5 separate regions of the Homo sapiens genome follow, and all the other regions are linked to region 5. Evidence: promoter capture Hi-C in 16 types of primary human blood cells and fetal thymus (Javierre and others, 2016). All regions are on one chromosome and are shown on one strand. Each heading gives the region's core, a stretch centred on a gene start or on the middle of the fragment in contact. The rest is flanking DNA. Distances are from core to core; before and after follow the strand shown. Region 1 has its middle 57 kb from the start of LINC01842. Region 2 overlaps ADGRL1-AS1 (ADGRL1 antisense RNA 1). Region 3 overlaps ADGRE5 (adhesion G protein-coupled receptor E5). Region 4 overlaps LINC01841 (long intergenic non-protein coding RNA 1841). Region 5 holds the start of NANOS3 (nanos C2HC-type zinc finger 3).

Region 1 (4,345 bases), core at 1,002-3,501, 400 kb before region 5:
GGTGTTTCATCCTGTTGGCCAGGCTAGTCTTGAACAGGACCTCACATGATCCACCCGCCTTGGCCTCCCAAAGTACTGGTGTGTCCAGAATCAGTGGGTTCTTGGTCTCACTGACTTCAAGAACGAAGCCGCAGACCCTTGCAGTATTACAGTTCTTAAAGGTGGTGTGTCGGGAGTTTGTTCCTTCTGATGTTCGGATGTGTTTGGAATTTCTTCTTTCTGGCGGGCTGGTGGTCCCGCTGGCTTCGGCAGTGAAGCTGCAGACCTTCACGGCGAGTGTTGCAGCTCTTAAGGCAGCACGTCTGTAGTTGTTCATTCCTCCCGGTGGGTTCCTGGTCTCACTGGCCTCAGGAGTGAAGCTGTAGACCTTCGCGGTGAGTGTCACAGCTCATAAACGCAATGCAGACCCAAAGAGTGTGCAGCAGTAAGATTTATTGCAAAGAGCAAAAGAACAAAACTTCCACACCATGGACGGGAATGGGAGCAGGTTGGCACTGCTAGCTCGGGCAGCCTGCTTTTATTCCCTTATCTGGCCCCACCCACATCCTGCTGATTGGTCCGTTTTACAGAGAGCTGATTGGTCCATTTTGACAGGGTGCCAATTAGTGCGTTTACAATCCCTGAGCTAGGCACAAAAGTTCTCCAAGTCCCCACTAGATTAGCCAGACACAGAGCACTGATTGGTGCATTTACAAACCTTGAGCTAGACAGAGAGTGCTGATTGGTGTATTTACAATCCCTTAGCTAGACACTAAAGGTTCTCCAAGTCCCCACCATATTAGCTAGATACAGAGTGCAAACCTTGAGCTAGACACAGAGTGCTGATTGGTGTATTTACAAATCTTGAGCTAGACACAGAGTGCTAATTGGTGCATTTACAAGCCTTGAGCTAGACAGAGTGCTGATTGGTATATTTACAATCCCTTAGCTAGACATAAAGGTTCTCCAAGTCCCACTGGACTCAGGAGTCCAGCTGGCTTCACATAGTGGATCCCGCACCAGGGCAGCAGGTGGAGCTGCCTGCCAGTCCCGCGCTGTGCGCCCGCACTTCTCAGCTCTTGGGTGGTCGGTGGGACCCGGCGCCGCGGAGCAGGGGGCGGCGCTGGTAGGGGAGGCTCAGGCCGCACAAGAGGCCATGGCGTTGGGGGAAGGCTCAAGCATGGCAGGCTGCAGATCCCGAGCCCTGCCCGGCGGGGAGGTAGCTGAGGCCCAGCGAGAATTCGAGCACAGCGCCGGGACCCGGCGAACCCTCCGCAGCTGCTGGCCCGGGTGCCAAGCCCCTCACTGCCCAGGGCCGGCAGCGCCAGCCTGCTGCTCCGAGTGCGGGGCCACGGAGCCCACACCCACCTGGAACTCACGCTGGCCTGCAAGTGCAGCGGGCAGCCCTGGTTTCCACCAGTCCGCACCTCCCCACAAGCTGAGGGAGCTGGCTCCGGCCTCAGCCAACCCAGAGAGGGGTTCCCACATTGCAGCCGCAGGCTGAAGGGCCCCTCAAGCGCGGCTAGAGTGGGCGCCTGAGGCCCAGGAGGCGCCGAGAGCGAGCGAGGGCTGCGAGGGCTGCCAGCACACTGTCACCTCTCACTGGGATTACAGGCTTGAGCCACCATGGCCGGCGGACATCCTCTTCTTAAATGCCCCTCCACTAAACCCTTTGAGGCCACCCCACGTGCTTCCCTCCAGCCCCAAACCCGCCAGCAACCCCAGGCACAGGGCCTGGCCCGGTTTCTTGCAAAACTTTCTGAACCCGCTCTGACTACTAAGTGGTTAAAAATATCCACTCCACCCAGGCAATTTTGCTAAGCTTATGTCAGGGGGAGAAAGGGAGACTCCGGAGAGCTCACAAATGAAGCAAATTGCTGAAAATCGGATTTTTACTGTCTTATCTCGGAGCCACATGAGAGGAGAGGAGATTGCAATTTCTGCGGGAACTTTCTCACATCCCCGAGTTTGAAGAGAGCAAGTGGCAGGGGAGGAGGTGCAGAGAGAAGGCTGGGAGAGGGAACCAGAAGAGAAGAGAGAGGTGTGAGAAGGAAAAAGCAAGTAGAGGCTGGGAGCGGTGGCTCACGCCTGTAATCCCAGCACTTTGGGAGGCTGAGGTGGGCGGATCACTTGAGGTCAGGAGTTCAAGACCAGCCTGACCAACATGGTGAAACCCTGTCTCTACTAAAAATACAAAAATTAGCTGGGTATGATTGCGTGCGCCTGTAGTCCCAACTACTTGGGAGGCTGAGGTGGGAGAATCGTTTGAACATGGGAGGCAGAGGTTGCAATGAGCCAAGATCACACCACTGCACTCCAGTCTGAGTGACAGAATGAGACTCTCTCTCAAAAAAAAAAAAAAAAAAAAAGCAAGAAGACAGAGGGGGAGGAAAGAATACACAAGAGAAAAGGAAAACAGCCACGTGAGACATTAAGGCAGAACTGAGAAAGGTAGCTGGGTGCAGTGGCTCATGCTTATAATCCCAGCACTTTGGGAGGCTGAGGAGGGAGGATTGCTTGAGGCCAGGAGTTCGAGACCAGCCTGACCAACATGGCAAGACCCCATTTCCACTAAAAAGAAAGAAAAGGGCCAGACACAGTGGCTCACACCTGTAATCCCAGCACTTTGGGAGGTTGAGGCAGCCAGATCACCTGAGGTCAGTATTACATGCGTCCATATGACGAGACCACCAAACAGGCTTTCTGTAAGCAATAAAGCTTTTTAATCACCTGGGTGCAGGCGGACTGAGTCCAAAAAAGGAGTCAGCAAAGGGGTGGGGCAGTTTTATAGGATTTGGGTAGGTAGTGGAAAATTACAGTTAAACGGGGTTTTCTCTTGTGGGCAGGGGCGGGGGTCACAAGGTGCTCGGTGGGGAGCTCCTGAGACTCATTGTCCAGGAGAAGGAATGTCACAAAGTCAATTGATCAGTTAGGGTGGGGCAGGAACAAATCACAATGGTGGAATGTCATCCACCATTAGCCAGTTAAGGCAGGAATTGACTATTTCACTTTTTTTGTGGTTCTTCAGTTGCTTCAGGCCGTCTGGATGTATACGTGCAGGTCACAGGGGTTATGATGGCTTAGCTTGGGCTCAGAGTCCTGACAGTAAGGAGTTTCAGACCAGCCTGGCTAACATGGTGAAACCCTGTCTCTACTAAAAGTACAAAAATTAACCGGGCTTGGTGGCAGGCACCTGTTATCCCAGCTACTCAGGAGGCTGAGGCAGGAGAATAGCTTGAACCCGGGAGGTGAAGGTTGCAGTGAGCTGAGAACACACTACTGCACTCCAGCCTGGGCAACACAGTGAGACTCTGTCTCAAAAAAAAAAAAAAAAGAAAGAAAGAAAAGGGCTGGGCGCAGTAGCTTACACCTGTATTCCCAGCACTTTGGGAGGCCAAGGTGGGCGGATCACCTGAGGTTAGGAGTTCGAGACCAGCCTGGTCAACATGTCAAAACCCTATCTCTACTAAGAGTACAAAAATTAGCTGAGCGTGGTGGTGGGCGCTTGTAATCCCAGCTACTCAGGAGGCTGAGGCAGGAGAACAGCTTGAATCCAGGAGGCAGACGTTGCAGTGAGCCAAGATCACGAAACTGCACTCCAGCCTGGGTGATAAGAGCGAGACTCTTTCTCAGAAAAAAGGAAAAGGAAGGGAGGGAGGGAGGGAAGGGAAGGGAAGGAGAGAGGGGGAAGAAAGAGAAAAAGAAAGAGAGAAAGAAAAGAAAGAAAGAGAAAGAGAAAAAAGAAAAGAGAGAGAAAAGAAAGGAAAGATGTGGGGATTACTGGGGGGTTTTGGATCCTGTGACTCCAGCCAAAAGCACCTGCAGGAGCTGTCCCACTTTCAAAGTCCCTTGGCCCATGACATGCAATTTTAATTGCAGAGCAAGCTCGTGCAGTTAAGTAGGGGCCTCTCACCCCATTTTACAGAGGACAAAATGGAGCCTTAGAGAAAGAACACTGACATGTTTGACTGTGTCTCCACCCAAATCGCATCTAGAATTGTAATCCCCACGTGTCGAGGGGAGGGACCTGGTGGGAGGAGATTGGATCACGGGAGCATTTCCCCCTTGCTATTCTCGTGACAATGAGTTCTCACCAGATCTGGTTGTTTGATAAGCGTCTGGCACTTCCTCTCTCTCTCTCTCTCTCTCTCTCTCTCTCTCTCTCTCTCTCTCTCTCTCTCTCTCTCTCCTCTCTCTCTCTCTCTCTCTCTCTCTCTCTCTCCCCTGCCTCCATGTACGATGTGCCTTGCTTTCCCTTCACTTTTTGTCATGATTGTAAGTTTCCTGAGGCCCCATCAGCCATGCGGAACTGTGAGTCAATTAAACCTTTTTTCTTCATAAATTACTCACTCTCACATAGTTCTTT
Region 2 (4,116 bases), core at 1,360-3,859, 260 kb before region 5:
AATTTTTAAAAATGCTGAACATCAAAACATTATAAAAATTAAAAGATGTCTGGGTGCGGTGGCTCATACATGTAATCCCAGCACTTTGGGAAGCTGAGGCGGGCAGATCACCTAAGGTCAGGAGTTCGATACCAGCCTGGCTAACATGGTGAAACCCCATCTATACTAAAAATACAAAAATTAGCCAGGCGTGGTGGTGCACACCTGTAATCCCAGCTACTCAGAAGGCTGAGACAAGAGAATCGCTTGAACCCGGGAGGCGGCGCTTGAACCCGGGAGGCCGAGATCGTGCCATTGAACTCTAGCTTGGGCAACAAGAGCGAAACTCTGTCTCAAAAATAAAAATAAAAATAAAAGATAAGGACACTGAGCAACAGGAACACTAACGAGGGGAGTGAGAACCAGTACCATGATTCCGAAGAGCAGATTAGCAGTATCTTGAAAAGATGAATACTTCCGCAACCCCCCGTCCAGCACTTCAACTCCTAGGTTTATCTCCCAGAGTAACTCCTACATGTGTTCAAGGAGACATAGATACCAACGCATACTGCAGCACTGTTTGTAATGGTAGAAAACTGAAAACACCCTAAATTTCAACCAAGTGAATTGATAAACACTGTCCAACAAAACTCTCTGTTCTCATGGAAATGTTTCCTCTCTATGTTCTCTATACACCATGGTGGCCACTAGCCACAGGCTCCTGCTGAACATGTGAAATGTGACTAGTGTGTCTGGGGAAGTAGATTATTTGTTTCGTCTAATTTTAATCTAAATAGCCACATGTGGCTAGTGGTTACCTTATCAGCACAGCTGTATAGCAGTGAAAATAAGTGAATTAGAGCTATACACGTTTCCACATAGATAAATCTCAAAAGCATTACACTGGATTAAAAAAAGCAAGTTTCAGAAGGCAGGACCCAGTGCCACCTTAGTGCCAGCTCTGTCAGGATACACCCAGTATGATCCTGCTATCAGAGGTCCCCAAGACCACCCTGAGGTTCAATGACTCACTAAGAGGAGTCACAGGATTTTGCTTGGAAGCGTAGGCATGGCTGTGATTTATGATAGTGAAGAGACACAAGGCACAATCAGCAAAGGGAAAAGATGCAGGAGCTGAAGTCCAGAGGAAACCAGGACAAGCTTCTAAGAGTCCTCTCCTAGTGGAGTCACACAGGACTCCATCAATTCCTACCGCCAAGTATGACAGCACGACGGATAGGCGGTCTACCAGGGAAGCTCATTACTCAGTGACCAGAGTTGTACTTGGGGGTGGTCGTGTACCAAAATGCCAGACTCCAGAAGGAGAGCAGGTGTTCAACATGAACCACATTGTTGGTGGAAACAGTTTAGGCACTCATCATTTGGGGAACGGCAGGAACCCTCCTGAAATCCAAGTTCCTAGATATCAGCCAAGGGCCAATCTTGCAAACAGGTCTTTCTAAGGATAGCAGTCTCAGGCCTGCTAGGTTAACTCTAAATTGCGCAGACACCATTTATATAAAAGTATAGAACATGACAAACAATACTATATATTGTTTAAAGATACACGCCGATATGCACAGAAGACTGTAAACACCAAATTCAGGGTTGTGGTTACATGTGAGGAAAAAGGAAGAGGAATGGGTTTGATGTAGGGGTATAGGGCCCTTCAGTTGCATCTCTAATGTTTTAGCTGTTAAGCTGGGTAACAGTATTTTGCTATAGCACTTCTTATACTTTCTCGAGCATGTGTGCACCTGAAGTATTAAACAAGAATGAAGACGTATCTGCTTATTACTATATGCTACTAACAGTTCAGTCTTTTGTTTGTTTTTAGACAGGGTCTCACTCTGTTGCCTAGCTAAGCTGGAGTGCAGTGGTGAGATCTTGGTTCACTGCAACCTCTGCCCCCAGGGCTCAAGCAATCCTCTCACCTCAGCCTCCTGAGTAGCTGGGACCACAGGCACATGCCACCACACCCGGCTAATTTTTTTATGTTTTGTAGAGACAGGGTTTTGCCCAGGCTGGTCTCGAACTCCTGAGGTCAAGCAATCTACCCGCCTCAGCCTCCCAAAGTGCTGGGATTACAGGCGTGAGCCACTGCACCTGGCTGGTTCATGTTTATTGAGTACTTTTCACATTCCAGGTACTATGCTAAACCCACCCTTTACATAGATTTATTCTTTTTTTTTTTGAGACGGAGTCTTCCTCTGTCACCAGACTGGAGTGCAGTGGTGCAATCTAGGCTCACTGCAACCTCCACCTCCCAGGTTCAAGCAATTCCCCTGCCTCAGCCTCCCAAGTAGCTAGGACTACAGGTACGCACCACCACGGCTGGCTAATTTTTTGTATTTTAGTAGAGACAGGTTTTAATCATGTTTGCCATGATGGTCTCGATCTCCTGACCTGGTAATCCGCCCACCTCGGCCTCCCAGAGTGTGTGACTCACTGCGCCCAGCCAGATTTATTCTTTTTGAAAAATTGATTGAGGACTTTCTATGAGCCACGTCCTCTGCTAAGCTCTGGAAGTACAACATTGAGAGGTGTGAGCTAGGCGAGATCTCTTCTCACAACCAGCTTTCAATCTACTGAGGGATGATGAGATAATAAGCACAATTTAAAACCAAAATAAGTAGAAATTCTTTTTTTCTTTTTAAGATGGAATCTCTCTCAGTTGCCCAGGCTTGAGTGCAGTGGCGTGATCTCGGCTCATTGCAGCCTCTGCCTCCCCGGTTCAAGCAATTCTTCTGCCTCCTGAGCAGCTGGGACTACAGGCACGTGCCACCACGCCCAGCTAATTTATTTATTTATTTATTTATTTATTTTGTATTTTTTTTTTTTAGTAGAAACGGGGTCTTGCCATGTTGGCCAGGCTGGTCTCGAACTCCTGACCTCAAGTGACCGGCCCGCCTTGGCCTCCTAAAGTGCTGGGATTATAGGTGTGAGCCACCATGCCCACCCGAAAATAAGTACAAATTCTGATATGCGTTACTAAGATCATAAAACTGAGTGATGTGATTAAGAAAAAGCTACTTTATTTATTTATTTATTTTTTTTGACACGGAGTCTTGCTCTGTCACCCAGGCTGGATTGCAGAGGCACGATCTCAGCTCACTGCAACCCTCACCTCTCAGATTCAAGCGATTCACCTGCCTCAGCCTCCCAAGTAGCTGGGACTACAGGCGCCCGCCACCACGCCCGGCTAATTTTTTGTATTTTTAGTAGAGATGCGGTTTCACCATGTTAGCCAGGATGGTCTCGATCTCCTGACCTCGTGATCCGCCTGCCTTGGCCTCCCAAAGTGCTGGGATTACAGGCATGAGCCACCGCGCCCGGCCAAGAAAGTGCTACTTTAAATAGGGTACTCTGGGAAGTCTTCTTTCAGAGGACATTTGAGCTGAACCACAAGCGAAGAGAAAGAGACAGCCATGCAATTATCTGGAGGAAGCACATTCCAGGCAGAGGGAACGGCAAGTGCAAAGCCCTGCGGCAGAAATAAGCTGGGTGTGTTGAAAGAAGGGAAATAAAGCCAGCTGGGCTTGAGAGCGGTGACAAGAGGAAGAATGGTAGATGAGGCCTGAGAGGTCAGCTGAGGCCACCACGCAGGGCCGCCTAAGCCATAGGAAAGATCTTAGGTTTCATTCTAAGTAGGATAAGCCTCTGAAGGTTTTAAGCAGAGTAATGACATGATCTGGTTTACAAGTGAAGATCATTCAGCCAGCTGTAAGGAGAATGCATCATAGACAGGGCCACATTCTTCATTAGCGCCACGGAAATAATGCTGGTGGATCATGAGCTTCTCAGGGGCTACGAAAAGGTCAGGGACAGGGATAAAGGGAAAAAAGTTCCACAATGCAAAGAGAAAACTACAAAGTTGGAATGAATAAATGTTTAATTAAGCATCTAGAAATGTGACATCATGACAACTGCATTAATCATTAAATTTAGTATTCATAAGCAATCGAATTACATTTGGAAATTAGATTTTCTCAAATCACAAATATCCCTAAGTATGCAATGATTGCCAAGAAATCAAGCGAATCATAAATGTGAGTTTCCTTGAAGCCAAATAATTTCAAAAGAATAAAAACAAAGCTTTCGATTTTTTAACAGCTAAAAAGAATTTTTCTTAACTTA
Region 3 (3,965 bases), core at 39-2,538, 510 kb before region 5:
TCTGTCGCCCAGGCTGAAGTGCAATGCTGTGATCTTGGCTCACTGCAATCTCTACCTCCTGGGTTCAAGTGATTCTCCTGCTTCAGCCTCCTGAGTAGCTGGGATTACAGGAGTCTGCCACCACACCCGGCTAATTTTTTGTATTTTTACTAGAGACAGGGTTTCACCATATTGGCCAGGCTGGTCTCGAACTCCTGACCTCAGGTGATCTGCCTGTCTTGGCCTCCCAAAGTGCTGGGATTACAGGCGTGAGCCACATTTCCTGACTCAAAATTTTTAAAATAAAATAATTTATCATGCCAGGCCAAAAAATTAAAAATAATTTTTTTTTTTGAAACGGAGTCTCACTCTGTCACCCAGGCTGGAGTGCAGTGGCATGATCTCAGCTCACTGCAAGCTCCGCTTCCTGGGTTCATGCCATTCTCCTGCCTCAGCCTCCCGAGTAGCTGGGACTACAGGCGTCCACCACCACACCCGGCTAATTTTTTGTATTTTTAGTAGAGATGGGGTTTCACTGTGTTAGCCAGTATGGTCTCGATCTCCTGACCTCGTGATCCACCCACCTCGGCCTCCCAAAGTGCTGGGATTACAGGCATGAGCCACTGTGGCCGGCCTAAAAATAATTCAAAAAATTATTTTACAGACAGAGTCTTGCTCTGTTGCCCAGGCTGATCTTGAACTCCTGGCCTCAAGCGATCCTCCCCGCCTCAGCCTCCCGAGCTCGGCTTGAGGGTGGAGTTTCAGGAACTGAGTAGGGAAGGGCCATGAGCCTGGTGGGGGTCTCAGCTCCAGCTGCTGCTCTTCTGACCTGGGGTGTGTGGGGAGTGGCTAAGAAAACAGACAGGAGCCAGGCATCCCCAGTTCAAATCCCAGACAGTGGGCCTCTCTGCCTCAGTTTCCCTCTGTAGAATAGGGATGATGGCGCCCACTCCCCAGTGTAGTGTGTGTGGGAGTAAACCACATGACTGCTGTCCGGTGTGCCTGAGCATTTACTGCCATCTTCATTTCTTCTTCTTTTATTTATTTATTTATTTTATTTTTTTTCTGAGACAGAGTCTCTCTCTGTCGCCCAGGCTGGAGTGCGATGGCACGATCCTGGCTCACTGCAACCTCCACCTCCCGGGTTCAAGCAATTCCTCTGCCTCAGTCTCCAGAGTATCTGGGATTACAGGCACCCGCCACCAAGCCCGGCTGATTTTTTTGTATTTTTGTAGAGACGGGGTTTCACCATGTTGGCCAGGCTGGTCTTGAACTCCCGGCCTCAAGTGATCCTCCCGCCTTGGCCTCCAAAAGTGCTGGGATTACAGGCGTGAGCCACCGTGCCCAGCCTGCCATCTTCATTTCTCTTTTTTTTTTTTTTTTTTTTTGAGACGGAGTCTTGCTCTGTCGCCCAGGCTGGAGTGCAGTGGTGCAAACTTGGCTCACTGCAAGCTCCGCCTCCCGGGTTCACACCATTCTCCTGTCTCAGCCTCTCGAGTAGCTGGGACCACAGGCTCCCGCCACCACGCCCAGCTTATTTTTTTGTATTTTTAGTAGAGACAAGGTTTCACCATGTTAGCCAGGATGGTAGTCTTGATCTCCTGACCTCATGATCCGCCCGCCTCAGCCTCCCAAAGTGCTGGAATTACAGGCGTGAGCCACCGCGCCCGGCCTCTCTTTTTTTTTTTTTTTTTTTTTTTTTTGAGATGGAGTCTTGCTCTGTTGCCCAGGATGAAGTGCAGTGGTGTGATCTCTGCTCACTGCAAGCTCCACCTCCCGGGTTCACGCCATTCTCCTGCCTCAGCCTCCAGAGTAGCTGGAACTACTGGCGCCCACCACCACGCCTGGCTAACTTTTTATATTTTTAGTAGAGAAGGGGTTTCACCATGTTAGCCAGGATGGTTTCGATCTCCTGACCTCGTGATCCACCTGCCTTGGCCTCCCAAAGTGCTGGCACAAGCCGCCAGGCCCTGCCTGCCATCTTCATTTCTTTAGGTAAAAATGAAGGCGTGGTCAGGCACAGTGGCTCATGCCTGTAATCCCAGCACTTTGGGAGGCCGAGGCGGGTGGATCACTTGAGATCGGGAGTTCGAGACCAGCCTGCCTAATATGGTGAAACCCCCTCTCTACTGAAAATACAAAAAATTAGCTGGGCGTGGTGGTGGGTGCCTGTTATCCCAGCTACTTGGGAGACTGAGGCTTGAGAATCGCTTGAACTAAGGAGGCAGAGTTGCAGCAAGCCAAGATCACGCCACTGCACTCCAGCCTGAGTGACAGAGCAAGACTCCGTCTCAGAAAAAAAAAAAAAAAAATGACGGTGTTGGATCACCCAGGCTCTGAGATGCCCTGGACCTCCACGCTTCCTCAGGGACACAGGTGCACACACACCACACCCACAACTGCCACTGGCCCTGGCGGTCTGTCCTGGAACCCAGTGGTGATATTTCACCCCCGGGCCCCCCTCCCACAGGAAGACGCTGTAGCCGCCTGTTGGGGTGCACGTGGAGTGGCGGTTCCCAGCACTCAGGGGGTTCCCCCTCCCAAGGCATGTTCTGGGGGACCCTCCTCAGGTCACCAGGGGATTCAGAGATGGGGACCTAGGGATCTCCTTGCTGTTCACCAGAGAGATAGAGACAAAGAAGCAGGGGTGGAGAGAAAATAGAGATTAGAGAGAGAGAGAGACAGACAGAGAGAGAGAAAGAGTCAGAAAGAAAGAGAGACACAGAAAGAGAGACAGAGACACAAAGAGACAGAGAGACAGAAGGTGGGGGGCTGTGCTTGGTGGTTCACGCCTGTAATCCCAGCACTTTGGGAGGCCGAGGCAGATGGATCACCTGAGGCCAGGAGTGTGAGACCAGCCTGGCCAACATAGTGAAACCCCATCTCTACTAAAAATACAAAAAATTAGCCGGGCATGGTGGCACACGCCTGTAATCCCAGCTATTTGGGAGGTGGAGGCAGGAGAATCGCTTGAACACAGAAGGCAGAGGTTGCAGTGAGCTGAGATCCCGCCACTGCACGCCAGCCTGGGCAACAGAGCAAGACTCTCAAAAAAAAAAAAAAAAAAAAAAGAGCAAGAGTCTCAAAAAAAAAAAAAAGAAAGAAAAGAAAAGAACAAAGAGAGAGAGAGACAGAGAGATAGAGGGACAGAGACGGAGACAGAGAGGAGAAAGGAGACAAGCTGGAGAGAGAGAGGGAGACAGAGAGGAGAAAGAAGACAGCTAGAGAAATATAAGACAGAGGAGACAGAGACACGGAGAGATAGAGACAGACAGAGAGACAGAAATTACATGGTGATAGAGAGAGGTGGAGAGAGAAACAAGGGGCCCATAAAGAGCAGAAGGGGAAACAGGAGGAGATGGGACAGAGAGAACAGAGAGACAGAGAGATAAACAGTGAGGAAGAAAGAAAACCATGAGAAAGGAGGGTGGATGGAAACAGAGGGGAAGGGCAGGGGAACGGAGGGCGTTGGGATATGAGCGGCAGGTGGGGCCTGGGGCGGGCTGGGAGGGGACGTCCAGTCCCTGCCGATCTGGGAATACTGGGGACCCCAATAATCCAGGGAGACCTGAAGGGGGGTGTCGGGCAGAGGGATGGGGACCAGGACAACGGCTGGGCATGAGTCACTTCCTGGGCCTAAGGGAAGGAATGACTCACCACTCATTTGCCCCAATTCAACCCTGGAGGGGCTTCCAGGGGAATTTTGGGGTCTGTTATGAGCACAGCTTCAGAGGGCGGGTGTTTGGGGTGCAGATTGGAGGTCCCCGGACCACTCAGCCACTGTGTTCAAATTTAGTACCCCTTAGGTGGGTGGAAGGCAGAGATCCCCACTCCCACCTCCACACTCCTTCCAGCTGGGTTAAACCAAGGCCGAAACCCCCCAGCCCAAGCCCGTACTCCCCACTTCTGTCAGGATTCCCCTCTTCCTCCTCTCTGGCCACAAGGCTTGGCTAGTTCCTCCCTCGGCCAGAACCCAGTTCCTCTTT
Region 4 (4,175 bases), core at 1,501-4,000, 470 kb before region 5:
TACAAGCTCCAAGAGGCTCTGCCCTCTCCCCAATAGCCAGGCAGTCCCCAGAACTGAGGCCAGGCTGTGGAGAGAGGGTGTACCCCTTCTGCACTGGCGGGGAGTCGGGGACAGGGCTCTGCTCCCCTTCTGTGGCTGCGCAAGACCCACAGCCTCTCTCGTGGCCACCCCCAGGCAGGGATCCCAAGAGCAATGTTCATGAAACCAGATCTCCTCCCTGCATAGTCCCTTTTGGGGTTGTCAGGCCACATGGGGAGACTGCTCTCGGGAGTATGAAGGCAAAGGGGGCAGGCCGGGCTGAGGTCCGTGTGTGGGGCTGGCAACTTTTTTTTTTTTTTTTTGAGGCGGAGTCTCACTCTTTCACCCAGGCTGGAGTGCAGTGGCACAATCTCAGCTCACTGCAACCTCTGCCCCCCAAGTTCAAGTGATTCTCCTGCCTCAGCCTCCCGAGTAGCTGGAATTACAGGTGCCTGCCACAACGCCCGGTTAATTTTTGTATTTTTAGTAGAGACGGGGTTTCACCATATTGGCCAGGCTAGTCTCAAACTCCTGACCTCAGGCAATCCGCCCACCTCGGCCTCCCAAAGTGCTGGGATTACAGGCATGAGCCACCGCGCCTGGCCAAGCATTGGTCTTGGAAGGCACATTGCATGGTTCCCTGTGTCTCCCAGGGAGATGGGCAGGGGGTAAGAAGGGGACTTTGCAAGCAGAGCCGACCACGTGCACCTTAACTGCATAATTGGGGTCAATATGGTCAGAGGCAAAGTCCTGGGAGAGTGGTGGGGTGGGTAGGGGGACAGTGCATGGGCCAGGGCTTCTTTCTGTGGGCGACACCATATCTGTGGGTGGGCGACGAGAAGGGTGCAGCTGGTGGTGTTGGAGGGCTTTTAGCTCAGTGTGAGCCTTCTTCTCCCCTCGGGCTTTTAGGAGGTGACTCCTCAGGGGGAGTGAGAGATCAGATTTGTCTCCAAAATAGGCCTTGACATCGCAGCCCACCTGTTTCTTCATCTCTCGGCTCTGGCTACTGTGACCTCCTTTCCCACTGTTCAACACCCGAGCTCCTTTCTGCCACAGGGCCTTTGCGCTGGCTGCGCCTTCTACTGGAAATCCTGGCTCCAGACTCGGCATGGCTGGGGCTTTATTCTTCTCAGGCCTCAGGATAAGCGTCACTTCCTCAGAGCCCACTCCACCCACTCTACCCACAGCAGGTGCTTCAGTGACATCCCTGTATATACTTTCTCCTTCAGAACACTTACTGCACTTACTGCCATCAGCAATGATCTTGCAGCCTGTTGTCCTCTTCCTCCTCTCTTCTCTCTTCCCTTGGACTGTAAGCTCCAGAAGGGCATGGAGGTTTATCTGTTTTGTTTCCATTTTTTTTCTTTTTTTTGAGATGGAGTCTTGCTCTGTCGCCCAGGCTGGAGTGCAGTGACACGATCTCTGCTCACTGCAACCTCCGTCTCCTGGGTTCAAGTAATTCTCCTGCCTCAGCCTCCTGAGTAGCTGGGATTACAGGCGCCCGCCACCACGCCTGGCTAATTTTTGTATTTTTAGTAGAGAGGGGGTTTCACCATGTCGGTCAGGCTGGTATCGAACTGCTGACCTCGTGATCCGCACGCCTTGGCCTCCCAAAGTGCTGGAATTACAGGCGTGAGCCACCGTGCCTGGCCGAGCCACTGTACCTGGCCTCTTTTTACTTTTAGAGACAGGGTATCGCTGTGTTTCTCAGACTGGAGTGCAATGGTGCCATCATGACTCACAGCAGCCTCCATCTTCTGGGCTCAAGTGATCCTCCCACCTCAGCCTCCTGAGTGGCTGGGGTTACAGGCCTGAGCCAGCCCCATTCTGTCTTCTGTGTACTCTAAACCTAGAGCAATGATCTAGGTTTGCTCAATACACACAGTAGGTGCTCAATAAATGTTGCATGAATGCATGGACGACGAGTTCTAGCTGGGAAATGGCAGCCGGGAAAAGTGGGTTGTGGAGGAGAATTTAAGAGATGAGAGCTGTTTCCGAAACTCCTGGAGGGCCCGAGGTCCCCCGGGTTGGGGAGAAACGGGGGCGACCGTCCACCTCCCCGGGAGTCGCACGCACCTCCCCTTGGAGGCCCACAGGTGGCGCTCGCTCCCCGCGCTGCAGTGGCGGGAAGCGGAGGTGGAAAAACCCGAGCTTTAGCCCCGTCCCGGGTCTGGCTGCTGGGGTCAGTTCCTGGCCCGGATTTGGACGCCAGTCCCTGGGATCCTGCTTGGGGTCCTACCTCGTGGTAGAGGGGCTTTTTGGTCAAACGAGGGGGATCTGAGAAGAGTGGGGGTGGTGGGCTGCAGAGTCCGGGCAGCTGAGGGCTCCCTCCATCTGTCCACGCGTGCTCTGATTCCATTCCCAAAACTAGTTCAGCAGCTCCATGCCTGGGGGAGGGGGAGACGCACTTACCATGTTCGTGTTCTTCCTTAACTTTATATAGGTTAGAGCTGGGCGCAGCGCTTGGTGTCAGTGGGTCTTGGGTGCACATTTGTGGAATGGTGAATGGGTGAATCCCCGTTTTACAGATGGGGAAACTGAGGCTCAGGGAGGCGATGCGGCTCACCCAGGTTCATAGAGCCAGAAAATGGCAAGGCTGGGATTGGAGACACCAGGCCTGTGTGAGTCCAGAGTCAGCCCATTTTGTTTGTTTGTTTGTTTGAGACACGGTTTTGCTCTGTCACTCAGGCTGGAGTGCAGTGGCAGGATCTTGGCTCAGTGCAACCTCTGCCTCCTGGGTTCAAGCCATCTCCTGCCTCAGACTCCCGAGTAGCTGGGATTACAGGCACGCGCCACCACGCCCAGCTAATTTTTTGTATTTTTAGTAGAGACAGGGTTTCACCACGTTGACCAGGCTGGTGTGAAACTCCTGACCTCAAGTGATCTGCCCGCCTCAGCTTCCTAAAGTGCTGGGATTACAGGCGTGATGCTTGGCCAAGAGTCAGCCAATGTTTAAAAAACAATGTATGTTTAAAAAACATTGTATTTGGCTGGGCGTCATGGCTCACGCCTATAATCCCAGCACTTTGGGAGGCTGAGGCGGGTGAATTACTGGAGGTCAGGATTTCAAGACCAGCCTGGCCAACATGGCGAAACCCCGTCTCTACTAAAAATACAAAACTAGCTGGGCGTGGTGGCATGCGCCTGTAATCCCGGTTACTCGGGAGGCTGAGGCAGGAGACTCCTTTGAACCCGGGAGGCAGAGGTTGCAGTGAGCTGAGGTCACGCCATTGCACTCCAGCCTGGGCAAAAAGAGCGAAACTTCGTCTCAAAAGAACAAACAAACAACAACAACAACAAAAATTGTATTTTATTTATTGCAGAGACGAGAAGTCTTGCCATGTTGCCCGGGTTGGTCTCCAACTCTTGGGCTCAAGACATCCTCCTGCTTCAGGCTCCCTCAGTGCTGAGATTTCAGGTGAGCACTACCTCGCCCAGCCTAAAAACATTTTTCAATAGATTTTCTAGTTACCCAAAGTGATACAGGATTCCCTCTGGGAAGCTAAAGCCCTTCCTGTCCCTCCTTATCTCAATTCCGAGATGATGGTGGGGAGGGTCTCCTTTCATCCTACCCTCTTTGCCTTCAAAAGCATGTCTACACATGCCTAAGGGGTCTCTGGGTTTCTAGCTGGGTCATAAACTTCTCCTGTCTGGGCTGGGCACAGTGGCTCATGCCAATAATCCCAGCACTTTGGGAGGACAAGGTGGGAGGATCACTTAAGATCAGGAGTTCGAGACCAGCCTGGTCAACATGGAGTGACCCTGTCTCTACTAAAAATACAAAAATTAGCTGGGTGTGGTGGCACGCGCCTGTAGCTACTTGGGAGACTGAGGCATGAGAATCGTTTGAACCCAGGAGGCAGAGGTTGCAGTGAGCTGAGATGGTGCCACTGCACTCCAGCCTGGGCAACAGAGCAAGACTCCATCTCAAAAAACAAAAACAAAAACACAACAACAAAACACTTACCCTGTCTGGGCCTCAGTTGCCTCGTCTCTAAAATGGTTTTAATGGTCATTGAACCACTTTCCAGGGTGTCTGTGAGTTGCACAAAAAGCTGGTCTGGGCAGGGCCCCACATCTGGGTGGAATTGGGGGTCTCCTCTGCTGGTTTATACATCTTGGTAGGAAAACACACCAGGTGTGGATGATCCTGCTGT
Region 5 (3,840 bases), core at 34-2,533:
AAATACAAAAATTAGCTGGCCATGGTGGCAGGCGCCTGTAATCTCAGCTTCTCAGGAGGCTGAGGCAGAAGAATCGCTTGAACCCGGAAGGCAGAGGTTGCAGTGAGCCAAGATCATGCCACTGCACTCCAGCCTGGGTGACAGAAAGAGACTCTGTCTCAAGATAAATAAATAAATACATAAACAAACTGGCTCGGTGCGGTGCTCACGCCTGTAATCTCAGCAGTTTGGGAGGCCGAGGTGGGCGGATCACGAGATCAGGAGTTTTGAGACCAGCCTGGCCAACATGGTGAAACCCCATCTCTACTAAAAATACAAAATTTAGCCGGGCATGGTGGCAATTAGCCGGGTGTGGTGGCGCGCGCCTATAATCCCAGCTACCCAGGAAGCTGGGGCAGGAGAATCGCTTGAATCCAGGAGGTGGAGGTTGCAGTGAGCCGAGATGGCGCCACTGCACTCCAGCCTGAGCAACAGAAAGAGACCTGTCTCAAGATAAATAAATAAATACGTAAATAAAATCAACTGCTGTTCTAAGCTCTCTCTAAGGTCTTCCCCTAACCCTTGGAGGTGGGTACTGGGGCTAATCTTACTTCACAGGGGGGCTCAGCCACTACCCTCGGACAGGTCCCCCCCAGCCACCTGTGCAGGCACCTGCTCCTCCTCCTCCTCCTCGGCGGTGGCCTGTGTCCTGTGTCTTCGCCTTGTCAGGCCGGACCAGCTTCTTGCCTGCCGAGTTTCGGGTGGTGTGGCTGTAGACGGAGGTGTAGCCCTGGCCAGTAAGTGGGCAGAAGCGTCGGGTGTGGGCGCGCTCACGTGTGGCGCCGCACTGGGGACACACGTAGTCCCGCAGGATGGGACACAGCACCCTGCCAGCCTCGTCCTTCAGCACGTGGGACTGGTAGATGGCCCGGGACTCGCCGTTGTGTTTGCAGAAAGAGCACAGGCGTTCGGGAGCTGGCGAGGACTCCAGGCTGCGCTTCTGATCCTTGGGTCCCGGCACTGGCACCGACTCCGGCGCTGGCATCGGCTCCAGGGCTGACACCGGCTCCAGCATTGGCTCTGGCTCTGGCTGGGGGCTCAGCCTGGTTTCAGGACCCTCTTTCCCACTCAGAGCCCTAACCAGGTGTGCCAAACCCAGGTAATCTGTCCACAGGTCAAAGGTCCCCATAGCTGGGCAGCATGTGCCAGGCGGAAGGAGTCACAGAGACAAGTAACCCTGCCTGGCTTAAGCTCCCTCCTTCTGACCCCTCTCTGCTGCCCCTTCCTTCCCCTCTCTGGAGCCTGGGAGTCTGTGCTGGCCGACCCTCCTTTTACCTCCAAGGGGGTGTGAAGAGGGAGGAGCAGGCTGTGGGAGGTTCCTTATTGTCACAGGGGGGCCTGGTGCCCCACTAATACTCCTCCTAAAGGGCTGTATGGCCTCTGGCTGTGCCGGGGGACTACAGGACACAGGGTGTGTGGGGGGGCATCCTGCGAGGTGCACCACAGCCCCCCGTACACACCTCCAGGGAATTGGGGGGCTACCCTGCCTCCCCTCCTTGTAGGAGTCCTTAGCCCTCCAGCCCCACTGGAGGATGGGGAGAATGGGTTGGAAACCCCACCCCCAAAGACTAGCAGTTACCAGTAACTTAAAGAAGTTAACTTAGTAACTTCTTTATAACTTTTTCTTCCTTCCCCTGGGCGGGGGAGTGGCCAGGTGCCCCTGGGTTCTTTGTGTGTGTGTGTGTCCAGGCGGGAGGTTGCTGATGCTCCAGCTGTCTCTGAAAGGAGTGTGGTAGTCCCAGGCTCATGGGCTGGTTGCGGGGGTAGGGGGGAAGGATCATGCCCCCCGGCCCCCAGCTCTGGTCTCCCTCCAAGAGTTTTCACATCGGTTGTCTTAGTGGAACCCCCATTGAATGGATGAGCAAACTGAGGTGTGAAGCCACCTGCCCATCCAGTTATTTATAAAGACATGCACCAGGCCAGGGAGTGGTGGCTCATGCCTGTCATCCCAACAGTTTGGGAGGCCAAGACAGGCGGATCACCTGAGGTCAAGAGTTCGAGACCAGCCTGGCTAACATGGTGAAACCCTGTCTCTACTAAAAATACACACACACACACACACACACACAAAATTAGCTGGGCATGGTGGCGGGTGCCTGTGATCCCAGCTACTCAGGAGGCTGAGGCAGAAGAATTGCTTGAACCCAGGAGGCAGAGGTTGCGGTGAGCCAAGATCAAGCCACTGCACTCCAGCCTGGGAAACAGAGTAAGACTCTGTCTCAAAACAACAACAACAAAAAGCACCACATCTGCCTCCTTCTTCTAGTTACTGGGGCCCCCTGAGGCTAGGTGCTGGGGAGGGAGCCCTTTCCTGGCGGGGGCTGCAGAGGGGTGAGAAAGAACCCTCTGGAGTTGGGAGGTGGGGGATAGCAAGTTGGGCTGTTAGGAGGGGACCCCTAGTACCTACAGGTCTTCAGTGTCCTCCCCGAGATGAGATCTCAGCTCAGTCCCAGGAGGGGAGGGTGTGCTCAGGACTTGGACACAGAGGAGAGACGCTGTGCCGCTTACACAGCTCATCCACCCATCCATTCATTTAAGAAACTTTTATTGGCCAGGCACTGTGGCTCATTTTGAGAGGCCGAGGAGGATTGCTTGAACCTAGGAGTTGGAGACCAGCCTGGGCAACGTTTTGAGACCCTGTTCCTACAAAAACACTTTTTCGAAATAAGCTAGGTGTGGTGGTGCGTGCCCGTGGTTCCGGCTACTGGGGAGGCTGAGGCGGGAGGATCAACGCTTGACTCCAGTTATTAGAGGCTGCAGTGAGCTAAGGTCACACCATTGCACTCCAGCCTGGGTGACAAGAGCGAGATCCTGTCTCTAATTTAAAAAACAAAACTATGGAGCACTCCACGGAGCAGAACTTACCACCCACATTTCAGAAAGGGGTTTTAGGCCAGGCAAAGTGGCTCATGCCTGTAATCCCAGCACTTTGGGAGGCCGAGGGGGGAGGATTACTTGAGGTCAGGAGTTTGAGACCAGCCTGGCCAACACAGTGAAATCTCGTCTCTACTAAAAATACAAAAATTAGCCCACTGTGGTGGCAGATGCCTGTAATCCCAGCTACTTGGGAGGCTGAGGCCAGAGAATCACTCAAACCCTGGAGGCAGAGGTTGCAGTGAGCTGAGATTGGGCCACTGCACTCCAGCCTAGGCAACAGAGTGAGACTCTGTCTTAAAAAAAAAAAAAAAAGGGGATTTTAGCTGCCCTGCCCCAGCCTGTTTACCCCCAACCCTCTAATATTTAGTCCCAAATCCAGCCAGAGCCCATCCAGATTCCAGACACCAGCTCTCCTCTCCAAAGAGGAGTGGTTGGGGTCAGGGCAAAAAACAGGCTGAGTGACTGTGGCGGTGGGGGGTCCTGTCCCCAGTCCCCATTCCCCTTAAGCCGTGTCTGGCCCAGCCACAGTGACATTCATCCCCCGGTGGGTCTGGCCTCAGTCCTCACAACCCACCGACAACAATGAATGTTGATTGTGACCTCGGCTGTGGCCTAGGGGAGGGGACGTGCCCAGGCTGGATTGGGGGCTCCCCAGGCCCCCCTAGATCTGGAAGGTCAGAGTCACCGGCAGGAGGATGGCAATTCCAGGCCTCAGGGTCCACTCAACGGTCGATGGTTTGCCTGAGCTGCCCAAACTCACCGACAGGTTGAATGTTCCCCCAAACCCTTGGCAAATTTTCCGGGACCTGGAGTCGGGGGTGGGGTAGGTGGCAGGGAACCAGAGAGCATGAAGAGGGAGAGGAGGAGAGAGTAAGGAACCCCTTTTCTCTCATGAAATAAACAAACGCTTTTCAGGTGCTGTTT

The links. Contacts are between HindIII fragments. The CHiCAGO score rates a contact against its expected background, and 5 or more counts as called.
Region 1: a contact is called between a fragment that was not itself captured here and the fragment with the promoter of NANOS3 in region 5, in 2 of 17 cell types (activated CD4 T cells and total CD4 T cells). The highest score is 6.1, in activated CD4 T cells.
Region 2: a fragment that was not itself captured here is called in contact with the fragment with the promoter of NANOS3 in region 5 in 17 of 17 cell types (M0 macrophages, naive CD4 T cells, naive CD8 T cells and 14 more); the score reaches 12.2 in M0 macrophages.
Region 3: a contact is called between a fragment that was not itself captured here and the fragment with the promoter of NANOS3 in region 5, in 1 of 17 cell types (monocytes). The highest score is 6.6, in monocytes.
Region 4: a contact is called between a fragment that was not itself captured here and the fragment with the promoter of NANOS3 in region 5, in 7 of 17 cell types (naive CD4 T cells, naive CD8 T cells, monocytes and 4 more). The highest score is 8.7, in naive CD4 T cells.

The regions. Positions count from the first base shown.
Region 1 is chr19:14,274,689-14,279,033 of GRCh38, reverse strand. No RefSeq gene overlaps it. Among named protein-coding and RNA genes, the nearest start is that of LINC01842, 57 kb to the left of the region's middle. RefSeq lists a silencer at 823-1,117. The HindIII fragment of the contact is 896 bases long and covers 1,804-2,699 here.
Region 2 is chr19:14,139,531-14,143,646 of GRCh38, reverse strand. The region is part of intron 1 of ADGRL1-AS1 (ADGRL1 antisense RNA 1); the gene reads right to left. Among named protein-coding and RNA genes, the nearest start is that of ADGRL1-AS1, 4.4 kb to the right of the region's middle. RefSeq lists a silencer at 376-670. The HindIII fragment of the contact is 2,934 bases long and covers 1,143-4,076 here.
Region 3 is chr19:14,384,096-14,388,060 of GRCh38, reverse strand. All of the region lies in intron 1 of ADGRE5 (adhesion G protein-coupled receptor E5), which reads right to left. Among named protein-coding and RNA genes, the nearest start is that of ADGRE5, 4.6 kb to the right of the region's middle. The HindIII fragment of the contact is 9,973 bases long and covers 1-3,965 here.
Region 4 is chr19:14,346,576-14,350,750 of GRCh38, reverse strand. The region is part of intron 1 of LINC01841 (long intergenic non-protein coding RNA 1841); the gene reads left to right. Among named protein-coding and RNA genes, the nearest start is that of LINC01842, 15 kb to the right of the region's middle. RefSeq lists enhancers at 1-258, 259-760, 1,559-2,437. The HindIII fragment of the contact is 7,067 bases long and covers 1-4,175 here.
Region 5 is chr19:13,874,577-13,878,416 of GRCh38, reverse strand. NANOS3 (nanos C2HC-type zinc finger 3) reads right to left here and starts at 1,283. Exons shown (of 2, transcript NM_001098622.3): 1 at 652-1,283. The coding sequence starts at 1,168. MIR181C (microRNA 181c) reads right to left here and starts at 3,718; the gene lies at 3,609-3,718. It overlaps MIR181D (microRNA 181d), which reads right to left and starts at 3,542; the gene lies at 3,406-3,542. The HindIII fragment of the contact is 10,444 bases long and covers 1-3,840 here.